Linked DNA regions of Homo sapiens: region 1 is linked to region 2. The links are contacts of gene promoters, found by promoter capture Hi-C in blood cells and fetal thymus (Javierre and others, 2016). All regions are on one chromosome and are shown on one strand. Each heading gives the region's core, a stretch centred on a gene start or on the middle of the fragment in contact. The rest is flanking DNA. Distances are from core to core; before and after follow the strand shown.

What was found. Contacts are between HindIII fragments. The CHiCAGO score rates a contact against its expected background, and 5 or more counts as called.
Region 1: the fragment with the promoter of THEM6 here is called in contact with the fragment with the promoter of PTP4A3 in region 2 in 2 of 17 cell types (endothelial precursors and erythroblasts); the score reaches 5.7 in endothelial precursors.

What each region holds. Positions count from the first base shown.
Region 1 is chr8:142,721,762-142,728,472 of GRCh38, forward strand. THEM6 (thioesterase superfamily member 6) reads left to right here and starts at 5,462. Exons shown (of 2, transcript NM_016647.3): 1 at 5,462-6,098. The coding sequence starts at 5,586. LNCOC1 (lncRNA associated with ovarian cancer 1) reads right to left here and starts at 5,212. Exons shown (of 3, transcript NR_038925.1): 1 at 4,961-5,212. RefSeq lists an enhancer at 4,968-5,187 and silencers at 5,218-5,657, 5,958-6,207. The HindIII fragment of the contact is 9,584 bases long and covers 1-6,711 here.
Region 2 is chr8:141,390,642-141,397,307 of GRCh38, forward strand. It overlaps PTP4A3 (protein tyrosine phosphatase 4A3), which reads left to right and starts at 1,380. Exons shown (of 6, transcript NM_032611.3): 1 at 1,380-1,443. ASTILCS (antisense transcript of PTP4A3, liver carcinoma survival associated) reads right to left here and starts at 1,980. Exons shown (of 2, transcript NR_187488.1): 1 at 1,767-1,980; 2 at 1-510. RefSeq lists an enhancer at 452-1,072. The HindIII fragment of the contact is 6,687 bases long and covers 1-3,036 here.

The DNA.
Region 1 (6,711 bases), core at 4,212-6,711, 1.3 Mb after region 2:
CTTTTGTATCCCATTGCATCCCAAATTCTCCTACATTTTTGCCTTTGAATGGAAGTATCCAGAGACCCAGGAAACTTCCCAATATACCTGGACAGTGCTACCCCAGGGGTTTCAGGATAGCTCCTACCTCTCTGGGAAGGCCCTGGCAAAAGACCTCAGAGATCTTAAACTTACAAGTGGAATCTTATTGCAATATGTGGATGATTTGCTTATTGCTAGTGAGGGCTTCCATAGTTTTCAAGAACATACTATTAAAACCTTAAATTTCTTGGCTGAATGGGAATATAAGGTCTTCCCCTTAAAGGCCCAGATCTCCCAGACACAGGTTCGATGACTAGGGTTCATACTTACCCCAGAAGCCAGGATGCTTGCCCCAGACTGAAAGCGGGCCATTGCTTCACTACTAGTCCCTGGTAGTAGAAGAGAGCTGCACGGATTTCTGCAGATGGCTGGCTTCTGCTGGGTTTAGATCCTAAACTTTGGCCTCATACTTAAACCCACTCAAGAGTGGAGAAAACCAATTATCCCACTGGGTAGAAGCCTGTCAGCAAGCATATGAAACCCTAAAATCTGAGTTAGGAAGGCCCCTGACCTAGGACTCCCACAATTGTAGAAGCCTTTCTTCCTATATGTATAGGAGAGGTTCAGGCCAGCCCTGGATGTCCTAATTCAGAATCTGGAGTCCATCCAATGGCCAGTGGTTACTTTCAAAGCAATGAGACCCAGTAGCCCAGGGAAGGCCAAGCTGACTTAGGGCAGTGGTGGCCACCAGCCTCCTGGTCAGAGAGGCCTCCCAACTCACATGAGGCCAACCCCTTCAGGTTGACACTCCTCACCAGGTCTGGAATGTGTTAGAAATAAAAGAGCACCACTGGCTGGGGAAGCCTAACTTTATAGCAGGCCCTGCTGCTAGACACCCTCGACTGAACCTTAAAGGTGTGTTAGACCTTGAATCCTGCTGCCCTGGTTCCCTCGCCCACTTCAGAGACACAAACACACTTGTGTGGAGACTTTAGAGCAGACCTATTCTAGACAAATGGACCTGCAGGACTCCCCCTTAGAAAATACAGATAAAGAATTATTTACATCTGGGAACAGCTTTGTAGAAAATGGCATCCAAAAGACAAGCTATGCTGCTGTTGGCTTGAACCACATTGTAGAAGCAAAAGCCCTTGCCCCAAGCACTTCCACTCATGAAGCAGAGCTCAAAGCCCTAGTCATGGCTCTTTAACTAAGGGAAGGAAAATACTTAATGTATATCCTGCCTCTAAGTATGGATTCCTAGTGCTCCATGTTCATGCAGCTGTCTGGAAAGAGAGGAGATTGTGGACTCCTAGGAGCTCCCCCATAAAACATAAAAAAGTGATTCTGTCCCTTCTTGAGGCAGTTCAGCTCCCTGCCCAGATAGCTGTCATGCACCATGAAGGGCCCCAGCAGGCAGTTCTTTAACCAGCCGAGGAGACAGCTGAGCTGGTGAAGCTGCCAAACAGGTGGCCCAGACAGAGCGGCTTGGCCCCTTGGCTCCTGTAACCCATGTTCCTACCATAGGAAGGAGGGGCACTGGGAAAGGGACTGCTCATTCCATCCTAGGAAGCTGGGACAGAATGAATCTGCCCAACCCACTCCTCCTGTTGCTAGCCGCTTCCTAGCCACTTTCTTCTAGACGAAGATTTAAATCAGGTGGTAAAATACATCATTAACTTGGGACAAGTTCAGCAGGCCATCTTGCAATATGATAATAAGATGTGACCTCAGCCGGGTCATGGAGTTTCAGATCATTTCCCTGCTAGCCCAGGTGCACAGGTCCTACTCAAGACATGGCGAAAAGGAAGCCCAGAGGCTTAGTTCACTGAGAAATGAAAGGGTCCATACCAGGTTTCCTTGGCTACTCCATCAGCTGTACAGTTGGAAGGACTTGTCTCTAGAATAAAACCTTTTGCTTCTCCTGATGGACGACAGGCCTGCTTGGAGAAAACAGTCTACTCCCGTAAACCTATAGAGGACCTCAAGTATTTGTTCAAGAAGCTGCCTCTGGAAGACAGCAATAGTTAAGTAACATCCTTATATAAATGATATATACCAGGGGATATGCAGACTATCTTCAGGACCCTGGCTTGATACCCCCAACTGCACAATTCATAACCTGAACCTCTCCATTCTCAATGACACCAGGGGATATGCAGACTATCTTCAGGACCCTGGCTTGCTACCCACCAACTGCACAATTCATAACCTAAATCTCTCCATTCTCAATGACACCAGGGGACATTCGAATTTGGGCTCCTCTTGGAATTGTTTTCCCTCGAGGCCACGCTAATGACCTCCTCAACCACCCTGCTTGCCTAGCTCTTTCCCCCTGCATGGCTCTGTGGGCTTGGACACCCCAAGCCCAGGCCAAGGAAGGGCCAGGTCTGGCACCCAGAAGTCCCCCACTTGACCTTGACTCCTTCAAGTCCCCCAATAAACTGCCAGTGAACCACCACAAGCTGCCCAAATCCATTGCGTTAGACTGATGCAACTGAGTGATGGGGAAGGTGTGGGTCCCTCCAGCTTTCGTGGGTGCTAAGACTGCTGGGTGTCTGGCACTGCTCTGGCCCTGGGACACAGCAGTTAGGAGGCCAACCAGGCCCTGGCCTTCTGGCTTCAGAGTCCAAGAGGGACAGAAGTATTCCTTGCTTATGTATTCCCTGTGTAAGATTGCAGCAAGGCTATGCACCCTGGGAGAGGTTCGCTGTGCAAGGAGAGCCCTGGGGATCTTGCCCAGTCTCTGGGCCCAGGAAGCGGAAGATGGAAGAGGAGGGAACAGCATGTGGGTGGGAGGGGAGCTGGGAGAGCAGAAGTTGGGAATGAATGGGCAGGGGCAGGAGCAGAGGAGGTCTGGAGGGTGGGTAGAGACCTTGGAAGCTCCAACTGGTTTCTCATTCATCCATCTTCACCGGTATCTCCAGGGCTAAGCCTCCAGCTCTGGGTCCCTCCCCTGGCAGGAGAGGACACAGTGGTGTAAACCAAAAATGAAATTCTAAGCACCCCCACCATCTGAATGCACCCCTGCTCTTGACCAAGGGCAGTCCAGGGTTAACCTGAAACACTAGTTCAGACCACGACAGGAAATGGGTGTTGGATATGCCTCACTGTACCCTCCTCCCTTTGGATTTCAGGCCCAGCTGACCAGCAGTAACATCAACACACCCCTTAAAGACTGAGAGAACAGACTCTTTAAGTCTGATGAGAAACATTTACAATCTATTCTCTCTGAAGCCTGCTACCTGGAGGCTTCATCTGATCATGAAACACTGGTCTCCACGACCCCTTATCTTAACCAGACATTCCTTTCTATTAATGCTAAGTCTTTAAAAAATAACTTTTTTTTTTTTTTTTTTTTTGGAGAAGTGAGGTCTCTCTATGTTGCCCAAGCTGGTATCTAACTCCTGGGCTCAAATGGTCCTCAGCCTCCCCATGGCAAGGATTATAGAAATGGCCCACCATGCCCGGTCAACTTAACTCTTTCAATCAATTGCCAATCAGAAAATCTTTGAATCTGCCTATGACCTAGAAGTCCCTCTGTCACTTCCAGTTGTCCCCACCTTTCTGGACCAAACCAATGTCCATCCTGCAAGTATTCATTGATGTCTTATGTCTCCCTAAAATTTGTAAAACCCAGTTGCAGGCTGACCACTCTGGGTACAAGTTCTCAGGATCTTCTGAGGCCGTGTGACAGGCCACAGTCACTTAGATTTGGCTCAGAATAAATCTCTTCAAACATTGCACAGTGTTTCACTCTTTTTGTTGGCAAGGGGACAACATGGGTGACCAGGAGGCTGCATTCTTTGAGCAATGGCCAACAGGCTCAACGGCTATGTCCTCAGTCCCTTCAGCCCAAAAGGCCACCCCTCCCTGGGGCAGAGGGCTCAGAGCCCAGCTACGACAAGGTGACACTTCAGGGACAAGTGTGAGCAATGCTAGGGTGTTGGGAATAGGCCCCCAAAATCTGGCCATAAACAAAATCTCTGCAGCACTGTAACATGTTCATGATGGCCATGATGCCCACGCTGGGAGGTTGTGGGTTTACCGGAATAAGGGCAAGGAACACCTGGCCCACCCAGGGCAGAAAACCGCTTAAAGGCGTTCTTAAACCACAAACAATAGCATGAGCCATCTGTGACTTAAGGACATGCCCCTGCTGCAGATAACTAGCCAAACCCACCCCTTTATTTTGGCCCATCCCTTTGTTTCCCTAAGGGGTACTTTTAATCTATAATCTGTAGAAACTGTGCTTATCACTGGCTTGCTGTGAATAAACACGTGGGTAAATCTCTGTTGGAGGCTCTCAGCTCTGAAGGCTGTGAGACGCCTGATTTCCCACTCCACACCTCTATATTTCTGTGTGTATCTTTAATTCCTCTAGCACCGCTGGGTTAGGGTCTCCAGGACCGAGCTGGTCTCGGCACTGGGGGAGCTGCCCTGATAGGTAGTGAGCTCCCTGTCCCTGGGGCTATCAAGCAGAGCCAGGTGCCGCCCCAGGGAGCTCCTTCTTTGAGGGCGGTCCAGAACCCTGGAACCCCAGCCCAGGCCCAGGCCTGAATCCGGAGCTTGTTTAACCCAGCAATTCCGGGACCCCATCCCCGGTCGCTGGCATCCGCTGTCATTCGAGAGCCTGGGGCTGACGGGGAGAGCTGGTCCGGCCTTCTCTGGGCCGCCTTTCCTCCCCAGCCTCGTCAGGAAGGGGCACAGGACAGCCGAGCTGTGCGACAGCCCGCTGGGCCTGCGCCCCAGGGCCTCCGGCGACACTTGGAGTCCGCAGCTGAGTCACTGACTCTCACCCGGGCTCCCCCGCTTCCGCCCGGCCGTGATTTGCTCCGGTTTCAAAAGGGAGGAAGGGCGGGAATGCTCGGGAAGAGCCTGGGGTTGGCAGGACCTTTAGGGGGTGGAATGAATGTCGTGAGGGCGAGTAAGGAGGTACCGGCTGGGGCTGAAAATGCGCACGGGGACCATGAGCGTGATTCGCCCTGAGCCGCTGCGAACGCCCTGCGAGCTGGGGTGGCCCTGGAGGTCCTGGAGCAGAAGCTAGGTTCCCGCAGAGTCCGCTGCAGCGCCGCTGGCGATCGGGCTGGGTCCCATTTTCCACGAAAAGTCCCGCGGCTTCGGCCGCGGAGGTGCTGGAGCCTTTGCGCTCAGACGAAGGGCCGAACGGCCAGGGCCAGGCCGCGTCTTCAGAGCCTGGCGAGGGTCTCGCGCTGCTGGGAAGGCGGAGACGCCGGGGCGCGCGTGCACCCTCGCGCCTGCAGCGCCGCGCACGGCCGCCAGGTGCCGCTGTGGCGCTCAGCGCGCCGCCCGCCCCGCCCCAGGGAACGCGAAAGTGGCGCGGGCCTGGACGGCGGGACGGACCACGTAGGGCGCTGAGAAGGTCGCGCCACGGTGGGCGGGGCTCCGGGCCCCTCCCCCTCGGCCGCCCTCGCGCTGTGGTTCGCTCCGGGCGCGCTGCGCTCGTGAGTTCCCAGGAGGCCTGGCGGGCACCGTAACCAGCGCCGCGGACACCGGCACCGGCGCCACGGACTCCGCAGGACCCCGCGCCCGCCGCCGCCGCTATGCTGGGGCTGCTGGTGGCGTTGCTGGCCCTGGGGCTCGCTGTCTTTGCGCTGCTGGACGTCTGGTACCTGGTGCGCCTTCCGTGCGCCGTGCTGCGCGCGCGCCTGCTGCAGCCGCGCGTCCGTGACCTGCTAGCTGAGCAGCGCTTCCCGGGCCGCGTGCTGCCCTCGGACTTGGACCTGCTGCTGCACATGAACAACGCGCGCTACCTGCGCGAGGCCGACTTTGCGCGCGTCGCGCACCTGACCCGCTGCGGGGTGCTCGGGGCGCTGAGGGAGTTGCGGGCGCACACGGTGCTGGCGGCCTCGTGCGCGCGCCACCGCCGCTCGCTGCGCCTGCTGGAGCCCTTCGAGGTGCGCACCCGCCTGCTGGGCTGGGACGACCGCGCGTTCTACCTGGAGGCGCGCTTTGTCAGCCTGCGGGACGGCTTCGTGTGCGCGCTGCTGCGCTTCCGGCAGCACCTGCTGGGCACCTCACCCGAGCGCGTCGTGCAGCACCTGTGCCAGCGCAGGGTGAGCGGCCCCCGCCCCTGGCCCCGGAGCACGGCCTTTGTGGGACCTCCGGGGGCTCCTCCTAGTCCCTGGCCCCCTCCCCTAGGGAAGGCCCGCTGCCTGCACCTCTTTCGGATACTGCTGGAGTCCTGCCTCTTACCGCTCCCGCCCCTCCCTCTCTACCGGGGGCATTCCTCACTGATGCCTTTGTTCGTGGGGGTTCCTAGGGTCCCCGAATCAACTCTTCATAGTCGGGCTTAGCGTGCTTCCCTCCTGCCATTTCTTAACCTGGCCCCTCACGGTTTCGTGTTCACCCCTCTCCTCTCTCCTGGTACTCTGTTCTGTGGCTGGAGTGTTGACCTCTCTGGTCCTTGGTCCTGAATATAGGTTGGAGAGGTGATCAGTTAGAAGAGGTTCCTAGGAGTTCCCGAGGACCTGAGCCCCCCTTTCACACAGCTTAGAGCTGAAGGGCTGGGTTCTGGTCACCTGGGTTTGGGGTTGAGGTATTGAGCCGAGTAGCTGAAAGCCTTCTGGCCTTTCTGCAGTTGGAGAGAGGAGGGCCATGCACCTCCCAGGGCTCGCTCCTCCCAGCAGGGCAGAACCGCCCCTGCAGCATGGCACCTGGGGCCCTGGG
Region 2 (6,666 bases), core at 130-2,629:
GGACCAGGGGCCTCTGGACACCATCAGCTTGCCCACCTGTCCAGGATTTGCACGCACCTGCTCGGTGCCAGATGCTGGGCACTGGGGACAAACCAGGTGAGGTGTGGACCGTGACCTGTGTTGTCACTGATTGGGGGACTTTCTGGCAGAGTGGAGAGTGCAGTGGGCTGAGAGACAGGATGGCCAGTGGAGACTGAGCTCTCAGAGGCGGCGGCAGCTGATGGGGACCATGCAATGGGAAGGATGGAGGCCCTGGGATAGTCTGCGGTGAACTTCCAGGCAGAAGGAACAGCAGGTGCAAAGGCCTTTAGCTGGGAAGGAAACTCTGGGTTGGAGGAATAGCTTGCAGGCGCTCTGAGAGAGGCTGGCAGCCAGGTGGCAGGGAGGCAGCCCAGTCAGGTGGTCTTGGGACAGTTTAGGGTCTCTGGCCTTCACCAGTGAGGTGGTGTCTGGAGACTTTTGCAGACGAAGGCAGCTCTCACTCCCATCTTCCCGGGGTCCCTCTGGCTGCTGAGGGTGGATGGGTGGAAAAGCATCTTTCAGGGAAGTGGAGGCAGGGCTGGAGCAGTTGAACATCTGACTGGGCCAAGGGTCCAGGGACTGGCATGGAACAGGGCTGGGTGGGTGAGGCCGCCTGGGAGACCCCAGCTTGCCTCTGTTTCCCCCTGTACTGGGGCCTCCTGCGTGAACCAGCACTGGTTTTTCCAGTAACTGGAGCCACAAGCCTCCCTAGGAACGGCTGACCCATAAGAGGACGTCCTCAAGGTCCCCAAGGGCTAGAGGCTGAGATGCCGCCTTCGCCTGGGCGGGCCTCGCAGCCTGGAGGCAGGCGGTGGTGCAGCTCGGGCAGGCCCCGTCCACACGCCTCCCCGCTCTTCTGAGCACCACGCGTCCCGTGGGCTCCCTACCCGTCCTGATAACACGGCGGTCCGGGGGCCTCGAAGCCGGTCTGACCCCAAGTACCCGGGCCAGGCGGCTGCCGTCTTGTCGCCCCAGCCCATCCCCTCAGCCAGCCCGCCTGGCGGCACGGGACCTAGCCCCAGTCGACTTAGGGGGAAACTGAGAACTCCAGAAGTTTCGTGAACTCCCTGGCTTCGTCCGCATCCCGCCCTCTGCCTCTTCGCTCGGGCTTCAAAACTGCCCCTCCGACGCCCGCCTGCCCCAGGCCGACCTGGCCTAGGCGCCCGGCAGGCACAGGAGCCAAGGTCAGTCCCCGAGGCCGCCCGCGCGACCGGAGCCGCCTCCTCCCAGCCCAGGGGCGGCCTCGGGGGCGGCGGGCGCGCGGCCGCGGCGTGGGGAGCGCTCCCATTGGGCCGTGCCCCCACGTGACCCAGCGGGTCCGGCGCGCGCCCTAAGCCGGTGGAGCCGCGGCCGCGCCTGTGCGCGAGGGCGCGCGCGTCCCGAGCCCTCCACCCGTCGTGCCGGCGCCGCCCGGACCGCCAGGTCAGTCTCCTCCGCGCCCGCTCGGGGCGGGGGCGCGCGGCGCTTTGTGGAGGCGCGTGGGGGGCCGTCCGCGCGCGAGCCCGCCGCCCGCTCCGGGCACGGCTTCGGGGCCGCGCAGCCGGGAGGGCCGCCGCCTTCCCCCTGCCCGCGCGTCCCGGGACCCTGCGCCTGGCGGCCGATCCGGCGGGAACGTGGGCCTGGAGGCTGCCACGTGCCGGGGCCGAGCCTCAGGAGGCCGCTGTTTCCCCAGGCGAGCCACAGAACACCCCTGGCTGGAAGGGGGTGACCCGCTCCCGTTTCTGGGTGCGCGGGAGACCTCCTACCCTGAGTTCATCCTGCGCAGGGTCCCGCCCAGGATCTGGCTCTGCCCCCATTCACGGCTCATTTTCCTCAGCTGCACAGTTTGGGGGGCTGGAACCCCACAGCCTTCCGTGCCTCCAGGGCGGGTCGTAGATGTCAGTGGAGGTCAGGGGAAAGCAGAGCGTCAGGTCTCAGGCCGGGTGGAGTCCGCCTCAGACCATACCAGTGTTGGGACTCGGGCGGCGCCTCAGCCCTCCAAGCACACCCCGGTAGAATCAGGTCAGCAGCCTTGATCCACGTGCCTCAGGGATTAAACGGGTGACTCCTGACACGCCCCTGGGCAGCTGGTGGCCCAGGGGTGGGGTGGTGGCATGCTTAGCTCCAAGTGGGCAGAGCAGTTTCACCCTGCCGGTTCCCGGAGGGAAGCCCTTTATGAGGGAGGCTTCCCTGGCCCTCTGTGATAGCGGCTCCAAGGGCAGCGTGAGGTCCAGGCTAGCTGGTCACAGTGTGTGCCCGGGCACCCTCAGCCAAGACAGAAAGGCACGTGCTGCACCCCCTCTCTCTGCCTGCGGGCTCTGGGGTGTGCCCCGCACACGATGGTGGGTGTTGGGCATCCACCTAGTCTGTGGACCCTGGGGGCCCTGCTCCCAGGTTGGAGCAGTGTCCTCGGCTGCAGACCAGAGGAGGTCACTGAACACAGGGTGCCTGTGGCCTTGCACAGACAGAAGCCGCCTGGCAGCCCTGTGCAGAGCCGTGCTTCACTGAGTTCCTGCAATCCTCCCAAGAAGTTCGTTAACCCCATTTCTCAGATGAGGAGACTGAGGCCCACAAAGGTGGAGTTGGTGCAGCCCCTAGCCTGCGGGGCTAAGCAGAGCCTTGTTGTCCCCATCTGCAAAGGGGGCGTTGGAGCTGCTGTAAATGGGCCCCGAACCTGTCACCTGAGTGGAATTAGGCATTGGGGATCTCCCCATCACCACGCCGGCCCCCCTCACTGTGGTTACGAAGGAGGAGAAGCTGCCCTGTGTAGGAATTCCTGGGCTGTTTCCAAATAGCCCCGCTAGGGAGCTGGTCACCCCTCAACACCCCCAACGTGTTCTCCAAGCACTTACTCTGTGCCAGGCCCAATGCTGGACCTGGAGATGGGGCATGGCTGGCTGGCTGAGCGGGGCAGGTTGCGGACAGGCCCCCGCAGGCAGTCGGCGTGATGGGAGAAAATGCAGGCGGGGATGAGATGCAGCCTCCAGGTGGTTTCCTCAGCTGCCTGCTCCTCTCTGCCTTTGCCCTCCTCCCGGAAGCTTGCGCTGACCACTGGAGTAAGGCTGGGGGCCTCAGCTGGTCCCCTCTCTGTCCCAAGTAACAGCCCAGAACATGGTGAGGGTGGCTGGCTGATGCAGTCAGGCACTGGACATGGGAGGCAGGAGGAAGGCCGGGAGGTGGGCAGCTTTCTCAGACAAGTGGGCAGTTTGGATGGCGAGGAGGTCTTGGAGGCACCATGGGTGGCTGGGCTCAAAGATGACATGAGGGCATGCTTAACAGATGCTTAACCAAATCCTGAATTGGCATTGGCCAATTTCTGTGGTGTAACTACTCCCAAGCTACACAGACGTGACTTTACTGGCTGAGGACTTGGGCAGAGGTGCACACAGTCAGACTGAGAGGGGGGCATAAGCTGGTGTGAGCCCTCCCTCTCACCGCCAGGGTGGGCAGAGTGTCCGCTGGTGCCCAATGCCTATGCACGTGACCTCCTTAGGGACTTACATCCAGATGGCGGTGATACAGCTTGGGGAGGCCTCTCCCTGGTTGGCAGGTCCTGGCGAAAGGGTGAGTTAAGTGGAAAGTGTACCAGGCTGGTGTCCAGGTGGCATTTGGCCAGAGGGGCTGAGCTGGGAGCTCCTGGGCCTGGGGCTGGCAGATAGTGGTGATTTTTCGCCCCCCAAGACCTTGGGCTTGCCTTGTTCCATGAAGGTCCCAAATCTGACCAAAGGCTGTAACCAGATGGTCACTGTCCCAGACCACCCCAGGGCGCTTTCTCACCTCGAGAGCACCGTTTCTCCCCACCTCCACCCTGGCCGCCCTTGCTGTCACCTACTCCCTCTGGTCCCTGGCACCCCTCCCTGCCTGCAGTGGTGTTTCCTAGCAAGTGCAGCAGCCCGAGGCTGGGCTAGAGGCAGGAGGGCCTGGCCTCCCAGTGTCTTGCTGGATACTTGGTTTCTTGCCCCTCCGTTTCCACACCTGTAAAATGGGAGCAATGACAGGTCTTCCTGGCAGGACAGTGGTGAAGCTTGGTCACACGGGTGAACATGTGTGAGGTAAAAAAGACTTCCCATCCCTCCTTCTGACCTGGACCGGCTCGCAGGACCCATAGGCAGGGACCTGGGCAAGGTCCGAGGGCCGATGAGCCCCGTCCTCTCTGCACAGTTCAGAGTTGGGTGGGAGTGGCTGTGGGCTGCAGGAGGAGGTACTGCACTTCGCACAGTTACGTGGTCGGGTTGGCATCGCCGCCGCCTGACTTCGGCGCCCCGCGAGTTGGGTGTGTGCGGTTGGGGGCGGCCCAGAGTGTGCCCCACGCCTGCCAGTCGGGTAGGCCAGCCTCCCTGGAGAGAGGGGGGCCTCCCCAAGGTGGGACGGGGACAGGGACGGGTGCTTCCTTCCACCCAGGAGCCTGAGCAGAGGGTGGAGGGTCCTGGCAGCTACCTACGGCAGCTGAGAGCTGCGCTCTTTAGCCGAGCGGGATCAGGGCTACGTGGACACAGCCCGTGCCAGTGTGGGTGGGGCACGAGCTGTGGGTTCCGATGGCCCAGTAGGCGTTCACCTGGCAGAGAGTGTGCGCGTGTCTCCCCTCCTTGGGGCGCCTCAGGTCAGGACCCTGAGAACCTCACTTATCCTTTGAGCTGCGCCAAGGCTGTTGTACAAAAGACAGTTCAGAAAATAAGGACAGGCTGTTCCTCCCAGCCAAGGGTGTGGCCCTAAGGACCCCTAGGTGGGGCATCGCTTCCCGCCAGGCACGTGCCACTCAGTCTTGGGCTGCTTTAGTGGCAGCCTCCTGGTTTGGAAGCGGAACTGAGGGTCAGGGATGACCACATGGCTCAGGGCTCAGCTGGGGTCCTGAGAGTGGGCCCTCAGGTTTACCTTCCTCCTGGAGGGGAACTGGGGGCCATTGCCCAGTGCACCCCCACTTCCCCTTAGGTGCGTGGGCCACCCCTCCCTCCTGCAGCCCCCGTTCATCTACCCAGGATAGGTGCATGGGCCACCCCTCCCTCCTGCAGCCCCCGTTCATCTACCTGGGGAAGGTGCGTGGGCCACCCCTCCCTCCTGCAGCCCCCGTTCATCTACCCGGGGTAGGTGCGTGGGCCACCCCTCCCTCCTGCAGCCCCCGTTCATCTACCCAGTGGGGATGTCCCCTGGCTCCTCTCCTGGCATCTTCCCGGGATGTAGGGGTGCTCCCATGCCCCCCGGCTCCTCTCCTGGTGTCTTCCCCAGATGTAGGGGTGCCCTCATGTCAGGGCTTATGCTTCTAGAAGGAGTGGAAATGCAGCACAGTCATTGCTGTTGCCTGCCAAGGGCCACCCTGGCTGGGGACAGATGGGGCTGCCTCCCCTCTCCCACCCTGTCCTGGCCACCTGCCCCCGCCAACCCTGCCACTGGCTCAGAGGAAGCAGGCCTAACCTGATGTGTAACCCCCACCCCTGCCGTGACTGTAACCCCGTGCCATGTGAAGGTGGGGCTCCTTGGCAGTGCCTGGTGATTGCGGTACAGCCAGAACCGGCCCCATTATCTGGGCTGTGGGTGCCATTGGTCAGGACCGTGATGGACTCATACGTAAAACTTGATGCATTTTAACTCCCTTCATCCTAGAGGATTGAGACCTCTGGCGGGTAAGTGTTCATATTACCGTCCTGCCCTAGAGCCAGGGAAGGACCCTAGGGGAGAAGTGACGTGCCAGGGTCACTGCTGGGAGGAGAGCAGGAATTTGAACGCTGGCCATGCCTCCTTTTTGGGGAAAGGTCAGTAAATGGGCAGGGGAGGGTGCTGGTCATTTGGGTGATGGTGCCAGTGGGGTGAGCAGCTCCAGGTCATCAGGTGGTATGGAATCTGGCCCCGGGCAGCCCGTCCAGCATTCCTCTCTCACCGAGCCCACAGCCCTGGAGCACCTACTGTGTGCCTGCTCTGGCCCACTGGGAACAGGACAGTCCCGAGCCCTGCCCCGAGGAGCTGGCGCCAAGTGGAGCAGCTGCACCACAGGCACACGGGGGACAAAGGGCACCGCTGATGATTTGGCCAGGAAGAGATGAGGTGGGGATGGGGGCTACAGGGTGGGGAGACGGTGGCCTCGGGAAGGGCTAGCTTGGCCACGCCAGCTTGGTCATGTCACCTTCTGAGTCTCAGTGTTCCCTTCTCACGTGGGACAAGACCACGCATAACCCGAGGGGCTGCATGTGTGGAGCCGACAAGCTGACGTGCGGGTCCTGAGTGCACTGAGCCCGCTGGGGTTCCAGACACAGTGGATGAACGATCCAGGGAAGGAAACAGCCTGGGCTGTGCTCTCTGGGACCTGCCCTTGAGCCAGGTACTCCTGTGGGAGGGTAGCCGGGCTGGCTGGGGGCCTGGAGCCCACAGCCTCTCCTCCCTTGCTGTTTTCCCGGCCAGGGAGGAAGCCAGGCTGGAAGACCCCAGAGGGCTAGGGGGATGAACACAGGTTGATCTGTGTTGAATTTGGCTCTAGCCACCTCCTCAGGGCCAGAGCGGCTCCTGGAGCCGGAGTGAGAGCTGTGTTACACGCAGGGAAGCCGGGGCTCGGGGAAGGTGGCTGCCAGGGTGTGCAGGGCTGTGCCAACCTCATCCTGGTGGGTCCCTGTGACAACAGGACAGGCTGCCTGCCCATTGTACAATGAGAGGCTGATGCTCTGTCACTTCATGAGGTCA